Linked DNA regions of Homo sapiens: region 2 is linked to region 1. Evidence: promoter capture Hi-C in 16 types of primary human blood cells and fetal thymus (Javierre and others, 2016). All regions are on one chromosome and are shown on one strand. The core of a region is centred on a gene start or on the middle of the fragment in contact, and the rest is flanking DNA. Distances in the headings are between cores, read along the strand shown. Region 1 holds the start of RAB11A (RAB11A, member RAS oncogene family). Region 2 has its middle 3.6 kb from the start of RNU5B-1.

The links. Contacts are between HindIII fragments. The CHiCAGO score rates a contact against its expected background, and 5 or more counts as called.
Region 2: a fragment that was not itself captured here is called in contact with the fragment with the promoter of RAB11A in region 1 in 1 of 17 cell types (fetal thymus); the score reaches 8.3 in fetal thymus.

The regions. Positions count from the first base shown.
Region 1 is chr15:65,867,780-65,871,824 of GRCh38, forward strand. RAB11A (RAB11A, member RAS oncogene family) reads left to right here and starts at 1,712. Exons shown (of 5, transcript NM_004663.5): 1 at 1,712-1,846. The coding sequence starts at 1,807. It overlaps TRQ-CTG1-4 (tRNA-Gln (anticodon CTG) 1-4), which reads right to left and starts at 1,354; the gene lies at 1,283-1,354. RefSeq lists an enhancer at 1,526-1,585. The HindIII fragment of the contact is 828 bases long and covers 1,562-2,389 here.
Region 2 is chr15:65,306,023-65,310,489 of GRCh38, forward strand. No RefSeq gene overlaps it. Among named protein-coding and RNA genes, the nearest start is that of RNU5B-1, 3.6 kb to the left of the region's middle. The HindIII fragment of the contact is 4,735 bases long and covers 1-3,648 here.

The DNA.
Region 1 (4,045 bases), core at 462-2,961:
CTAGAAGCCTCCAGATTCCTAGGCTCCTGGGCCCTTTCCTCCATCTTCAAAGCCAGCAAGGGCAGATTGAGGTCTTTTCAAGTCACATCACTCTGACCTCTTCTGCCTCCATTTTCCACTTTTTTTTTTTTTTTTTTGAGAACGAGTCTCTCTCTGTTGCCCAGGCTGGAGTGCAGTGGCGTGGTATCAGCTCACTGCAACCTCCGCTTCCCGGGTTCCAGCAATTCTCATGCCTAAGCCTCCAGAGTAGCTGGGACTACAGGCACCCACCACCACGCCAGACTAATTTTTTGTATTTTAGTAGCGACAGGGTTTCACCTTGTTGGCCAGGCTGGTCTTGAACTCTTGACCTCAGGTGATCCACCCACCTTGGCCTCCCAAAGTGCTGGAATTAAGGCCTGAGCCACCGTGCCCAGCCCATTTTCTACTTTTAAGGACCTTATGACAACACTGGGCCCACCCAACTAATCCAGGATAATATCCCTAATTTAATGTCAGCTGATAAGCAACCTTAATTTCATCTGTAACCTCAATTCCCCTTTGCCATGTAACCTAACCTATTCAGTCTCCAGGAATTGGGAAGTGGACATCATTGGCAGGGGGCATTATTCTGCTTGTTATAGGCATACTTGCCCACAAGTCTAAATCGAGAGTTTGCATATAGGAGGTAGGAGGTGTGACAATAATTGGATAAAGGCTTTTCTGGAATGACAAAATTCTCTTCAAATACAGGGAGGCCCTGCGACATGATATCTGGCAAATCACTTGAGTCTTAGTATCCAAACTTCCGCTAAAATGGAAATTACCATCCTTTGCTTGGCATGTTAAATGAAATACTTATGTAAACGGACTTAGATTAGAGGCCTACAAATAGGACTCAAGTTCTTGATGAATCTTGATGAGGAGGGTGGGCGAAGTACTCTAAATGAAAATGAGATAGATTGCGAGATTTCCGGAGAGGAGTGAGTGACAAGCGCCTACCCGTGCATGAAGCTGGAGGTAGAAAATTCCAGCAAAAGGAATTTTCAAGTTTCACTGAAGCTTTTGAATCAAGGCTTGAAAGCCCAGGGTTAAAAAAAAGGCAGTGAAGAAGCTCATTAAGACAACCCCCCGCCAGGTAGCAGATAGCACCTGAAATGCAGTGGGAAATTTGTGAGGTCTTCATAGGCAAGGATTAAATTTTACATCTCCATCTTAAGATGTGTCATAGTTGTTCAATTACTTAGTGACCAAAAAAGTGAATTAAAGATGTTGTCAAGATTAAAAAAACAAAAACCAATGCAGGTTCCACCGAGATTTGAACTCGGATCGCTGGATTCAGAGTCCAGAGTGCTAACCATTACACCATGGAACCGCCACGCATGTGTAGCTGCCTTCGGCTGTCTAATCCTCAGAGAACCCCGCCCCCATCCACAAACCCACCACTCACAGGCGGTCCCGCCTGGTTCCAGCGAGCCGCTTCCGGCACGGTAGCTCGAGAAATGAGCAAGCGGCCACTAAGACTATGGTAGCTAGGAGTTCCAGGACTCAGTTTCCCCTTTGAGCCTCCTTTAGCGACTAAAGCTTGAAGCCCCACGCATCTCGACTCTCGCGCACACCGCCCTTGTTGGGCTCAGGGGCGGGGCGCCGCCCCCGGAAGTACTTCCCCTTAAAGGCTGGGGCCTGCCGGAAATGGCGCAGCGGCAGGGAGGGGCTCTTCACCCAGTCCGGCAGTTGAAGCTCGGCGCTCGGGTTACCCCTGCAGCGACGCCCCCTGGTCCCACAGATACCACTGCTGCTCCCGCCCTTTCGCTCCTCGGCCGCGCAATGGGCACCCGCGACGACGAGTACGACTACCTCTTTAAAGGTGAGGCCATGGGCTCTCGCACTCTACACAGTCCTCGTTCGGGGACCCGGGCCACTCCCGGTGGACCCTCGTGCCGGCCACCCCTGCACTGATATAGGCCTCCCTCAGCCCTTCCTTTTTGTGCGGTTCCGTCTCCTACCCAGCTCAGCCTCTTCTCCCCCGCTCAGACAGGGGTCCCCATCACATGCCGCTCTCTGAGCGACCTCTCCATAGGCCTTCGCTGGCCTCAGAGCCCCTCCCTGCGTGTCCTTCCCCTGGCGGACTGCCTTCTCCCACATCGTCGAATTCCTTTCCCCGGGTTCTACGGCCCCGCCGCTCCTCCCACCATCTCTCTTTTCGGGTGTAGCGCCCCCTCCCCCTCGGCGTACACCCTTCCCAGCTCGCGTCCTCTCCCGAAGCCCCTCTGACGGGTTCTTCGCTTCCCTCTTGGCCTTGCCTTCGGTGCAGACTCCCATTACAGGTCTTTTTCTTATCTGCCCTCTTTCCCCCCTCGAGCGAGCGTCTCTTCTGTATCTCCCCTCCACTTGGACGGCCGCCCCTCTAAGCTTCTCCCATCCCGGGTCCAGGACCCCGTAAAATCTGAGCGGGCCAAGGGCCTCCGCCCCCACCCTCCGCCCCGCGGTTCTCGCGGTCCTTAACCTTCTCTGACCGCTCCCTCTCCCACTCCCCATTTGGCAACTCTCTCTACCTTCCCTCCCCAAATCGTGTTTAGAGCTCCCTTGTCTCCGTTGCGACCTGGGTGGTGGGAGGGAGGGTAAGAGGGATCGCCCATCACCCACTCGCGCACTTGTCGCAGTGACCCGGCAGGCTGACATTACTTCCCACCTAGCCTTTTCTTTTCTTGCCCTCCCTACTCAGTGGCACCCAACCCGGGATAACTCTTTACTCGGTTCGCGAGATGAGGTTGCGGATGGGTGGTGGCTGTTATCCTTGCCAGACCTGAAGGCCTGGTTCCTGAGCAGGAAAGGTTGTGCGCTGCACAAATACTAGCTTGCTTTATCTCTATGAACTGGTTGCTTCCTGCTGCAACGCTGGGAGGATCCAACAGGAAGGGAAGAGCCCTAGTTAGCCACATACCTTTCCCAAAAGGTTGGGGGTGGGAGGAAGTTGTGTGCTCTTTTGGTTACATTAAATATTTATTATAAGATACGGAAACATGTAGTGCCCTTGGACAGAACATATTGGAGGGTCAGGGTTGGTTAGAAAGAATTGCTTATTGGTTGAGTCCGGAAGGAATCCGGTTTTTTTTTTTAATCAACGAAGATAAAGGGTACATTTTTCAATGAGAAGAGAGTACAGTAGATGCTTTTTTTGTTCAGTGAATGCACTCTCACTCTGATGCTCTTTCTCTGCTCCTGAATTGGGAAGGTAGCCATCAGTAGTGTGCCGAACAAAGATCATTACCACTGAGGAAGAAGCCATTGCTATTAAAGCTTTACTGTGGAGGGTGGAGTTTCAAGAGTGTTAAGCATGGTGACTGTTTCTGTCTTTGCCATTGGGTGCTAAGAATGATTGACTAAACCAAGCAGGAAAGATTTCTTTGCTTTCCCAATACTTTGCAAATCTTGTTATACTAACTAGTCTGCTGTTATACTCTTATCATCTCTTACTCCTCTGACTCAGAATATTCTACTGTATAGGGTGAATACTTTTGGTATCCACCCTCCCCCTCCATACTGGAAAGTACTTTCAGGGTACTTAGTTCATTTTACAAATACAAAACTGAGGCCTGGATTACAAAAAGTATATGACAGCATACCTTTTGCCGAAGGTATCTGAGATGATGTGAAACTATTTGAATCTCTTGAGACTTTGGGGTTAAAGGTTAGGTTTGTGTTTTGAAATATGGTATAATGGTAGTGTGCTTTTATAAAGGTTGTCTTTGAAGTAATTAATTCAGAACAAGATAGACCGTCAGGGTATTTCTCCTGTTTGGTTTGAACTTGAATGTTGGTTATACAAGGTCCTTTTATTTTTTAACAAAGAATATTAAATATTCTGAATTGGCCTAAAGTATTTTAACTTTTTGATTAGACCATCCTTCTAGCAACAATTGAGAGCACTGAGCTTTGGAATCACGTAGACCTCGGTTTAGATCCTGACTCAGGTCTTATATTTACTTTATGACCTTGGAAAAGTTAACTTTTCTGAGTCTCAGTTCTCTACTTTATAAAAAGGAAAATACCTGCCTCTTAAGAT
Region 2 (4,467 bases), core at 31-2,530, 560 kb before region 1:
CTCCCAAGCAGCTGGGACTGCAGGCGTGCACCACCACACTGGCTGATTTTTAAAAATTTTTATTTTGTTTTTATGCTTTTTGTAGAGACAGGATTTCTCCATGTTGCCCAGGGTGAGCTGCTCTGGATCTTCTGAGCTCAAGTTATCCTCCCACCTCGACCTCCCAAAATGCTGGGATTGCAGGTGTGTGCCATTGTGCCTGGCTTTTTTTTTTTTTTTTTCCTTTACAAATGTCTAATCTTCCAGCATTATAGTAATTTTAATGTACATCTCCCTAATTACTAATGAGGTTGAACATCTTTTCAAAGATTTTTTGGCCATTCATAGTTTCTCCTGTAAAATGCCTGTTTGTGCCTTTTGCCCATTTTTTTCTTAGATGGCGAATCTTTTTCTTAGTGGGTATAGTAGTTTTTTGCACAGCTTCTAGACTTCAGAGACTTTAAATAGTAATTCTTTGTTGGTTATATGGTGCAATTACCTTCTCCCAGTTTACAGCTTCTCTTTTTGCTCTTATAGAGTCTCTTGGTGACTGGTTTTAATGTCAGATTGATTTGTTTTTTTTCTTCATTCTCATTTGTACTTTTGTGTGTTTTGTTTAATAAACAACTCACCACCTCAAATTATTAAATAAATTCTGTATCTTTTTAAGTGATGTCTTTCATATTAAGTCCTTGATTCCTCTGGAATTGAATTTTTATGTATAGTGTGAAGTGTGAATCTGGTGTTATTTTTCCCCTGGAAATGATTGGCAATTGTCCAGCACTGTGTATTGACTTGGTACCTCCTTTCCCTAGGGATATGCAGTGACATGTGTCCATGGGTCTGTTTGTCTAAACTTGAGCCAATATTGCACATCCTAATTACTATGAGTTTATAATAAGACTTAAAATCTGGTGGGTGTCATCTCTCTACTTTGTTTTCTTTTTAATAGTAACTTGGCTAAACTTTCTTCTTCCAAAAATGTTTAGAATTGTCTTGTCAATTTCCATGAAAATCCCTATTGCGTCTGAATTAAATCTATAGATTGATTAGGGAGAATTGAATCTTTATCTTATTAATGGACATGATTTGTCTCTCCATATGTTTAGGTCTTCATTTTTTTTTATTCTTTATTTTTTTGAGACAGTCTCACTCTGTCGCCCAGGCTGGAGTGCAGTGGTGCGATCTCGGTTCACTGCAACCTCTGCCTCCCAGGTTCAAGCGATTCTCCTGCCTCAACCTCCCAAGTAGCTGGGATTACAGGTGCCTGCCACCACGCCTAGCTAATTTTTGTATTTTTAGTAGAAACGCGGTTTCACCATGTTGGCCAGGATGGTATCGAACTCCTGACCTCGTGATTTGCCTGTCTCGGGCTCCCAAAATGCTGGGATTACAGGCGTGAGCCACCGTGCCCAGGTCTTCATTATCTTTCAGTAAAGTGTTATAATTTTTCTACTAAAAATCTCACACTTTTTATTAATTTCTAAAATAATATCTCCTAACTGTACACTGCGGTTTTATAGAAATTCAGTGAACCTGTATGGGATCTTACATCTGGCAACCTTACTTGATTTATTAACTTTAATCTATGTGTAGATTATTTTCAGTTTTCTACCTATATAATCTCATTATCTGGGGATTTTTTTCAATTTTTCCTTTCTAATATTTATAATTATTTTTATTTATTTATTTATTTTTGAGAAGGAGTCTTGCTCTGTCATCCAGGCTGCAGTGCAATGATGCAATCTTGGCTCACACAACCTCCGCCTCCCAGGTTCAAGTGATTCTCGTGCCTCAGCCTCTGGAGTAGCTGGGATTACAGGTGCACCCCATCATGACCAACTAATTTTTGTATTTAAGTAGAGCTGGGGTTTCACCATGTTGGCCAGGCTGGTCTCGAACTCCTGACCTCAAGTGATCTGCCCACTTCAGCCTCCCAAAGTGTTGGGATTACAGGCGTGAGCCACTGCGCACGGCCTCAATTCAGTTTTGGATGTAGGACTTTTCCTTTTTTTTCTTGAGACAGGGTCTCCCTCTATCAACCAGGCTGGAGTATAGTGGTATAATCATGGCTGACTGCAGCTTCTACCTATCAGGCTCAAGTGATCCTCCTACTTCAGCTTCCTGAGTAGCTGGGACTACGGGCATGCACCACCACGCCCAGCTATTTGAATTGTTTTGTAGAGACAGTCTCACCATGTTGCCCAGGTTAGTCTCAAACTCCTGGATTCAAGCGATCCCACTGACTCAGCCTCCCAAAGTGCTGGCATTACAGGCGTGAGCCATCGTGCCCCACCCGGACTTTTCTTTCACATGTGAAACTGAGCCAGGAGTGGTGGCTGTAAACCCAGCTACTTAGGGGACCAAATTGGGAGGATCACTTGAGGCTGGGAGTTCGAGACCAGCCTAGGTGAAATAGTGAGACCCTGTCTCTAAAAGAATAATTTTAAAAAATGGTAAAATTGGCCAGGTGCAATGGCTCATGCCTATAATCCCAATACTTTGGGAGGCCAAGGCACATGGATTGCTTGTGGTCAGGAGTTTGAGACCAGCCTAGCTAACATGGTGAAACCCTGTCTCTACTAAAATACAAAAATTAGCTGGGCATGATGGTGTGTGCCTGTAATCCCAGCTACTCAGGAGGCTGAGGTGGGAGAATTGCTTGAACCTGGGAGGTGGAAGTTGCAGTGAGCCAAGATTCTGCCACTCTACTCTAGCCTGAGTGACAGAGGGAGACTCTCTCTCAAAAAGAAAAAGAAAAAAGTAGTTCGAGACCAGCTTGACCAACATGGTAAAACCCCATCTCTACTAAAAATACAAAAATTAGCTGGGTGTGGTGGTGGGCGCCTGTAGTCCAAACTATTTGGGAGGCGGAGGCAGGACAATCGCTCGAACCCAGGATGCAGAGGTTGCAGTGAGCTGAGATCACACCACTGCACACCAACCTGGGTAACAGAGTGAGGCTCTGTCTCAAAAATAAGTAAGTAAGTAAATAAATAAATAAGGCCGGGCACAGTGGCTCACACCTGTAATCCCAGCGCTTTAGGAGGCCAAGGTGGGCGGATCACCTGAGGTCAGGAGTTCGAGACCAGCCTGACCAACATGGAGAAACCCCATCTCTACTAAAAATACAAAATTAGCTTGGTATGGTGGTGCATGCCTGTAATCCCAGCTATTCGGGAGGCTGAGGCAGGAGAATCGCTTGAACCTGGGAGGTGGAGGTTGCGGTGAGCAGAGATCGCGCCATTGCACTACAACCTGGGCAACAAGAGCAATACTCTGTTTCAAAAAACAAAAAAAGCCCAGGCGTGGTGGCTCATGCCTGTAATCCCAGAACTTTAGGAAGCCGAGGCGGGTGAATCATGAGGTCAGGAGATTGACACCAGCCTGGCCAACATGGTAAAACCCCATCTCTACTGAAAATACAAAAATTAGCTGGGTGTGGTGGCATATGCCTGTAGTCCCAGCTACTTGGGAAGCTGAGGCAGGAGAATTGCTTGAACCAGGGAGTCAGAGGTTGTAGTGAGCCGAGATCACGCCACTGCACTCCAGCCTGGCGACAGAGTAAGACTCTATCTGTAAATAAATAAATAAATAAAATGTAAAATTGACCACAAGGCAGACTGATTTCAGTTGAGTTACGATTTATTTGACAAATATTTATGGAGAAGCTTCTCTGCTGGGCCCTGGGCCTGGGCTTCTCTACTGGGCCTGGATATACAGGGGCAGTAAGAGCCTCACAGTGAACTCTAACAGATTGCAGCAAGCAGGAAAATGAGGCGAAGGGTTGCAGAAGGAGAGAGGAGGGAGCAACTGCTTCTGCCCAAGAGAATCATGAAGACTTCATGGAGGTGACAGGGCCCTTGACACACTGAGAAATGGTCCAGGGAGAGGCACTGGGAGAGTGCATCTCAGGCTGTGATGGACGGACTTCCTTCTGAGTTTTTGGTTGTCGTCTGTGGGGATCGAAGAGTCCCAGAGACCGTGCTCCTCCCGTGGCTAACACTAATTCACCGAGGAGCTATGCACATTCCTTCCCCTCTTCCCTCCATGCTGGGGGTGCCTCCAGGAGGCGAGAACACGCACCGGCCTTCCAGCTGAAAATCCAGGCCCCTCACCAAAATCAGGCCAGGCCAGCATCGGGAGCCTCCAGATGTAATGCACTGAAAAGGACACAGCTTGCCCTCTGAGCTGTTTACACCAAACATATCTGACTAAGTAGTCAGGAGGAAACATGAGACAAATCCACACTGTGGGTTACTCTGCAGGATAACTGGCCTTGTCCCTTTCAGAAGTGTCAGCACCATGGGAAACAAGAGCGGCTGGGGCTGCTCTGGAAAAGGGGGAGCAAAGAGATAGAGTCTCACTCTGTCACCCAGGCTGGAGTGCACTGGCGTGATCTTGGCTTACTGCAACCTCCGCCTCCTAGGTTCAAGTGATTCTCCTGTTTCAGCCTCCAGAGTAGCTGGGATCACAGGCATGTGCCAC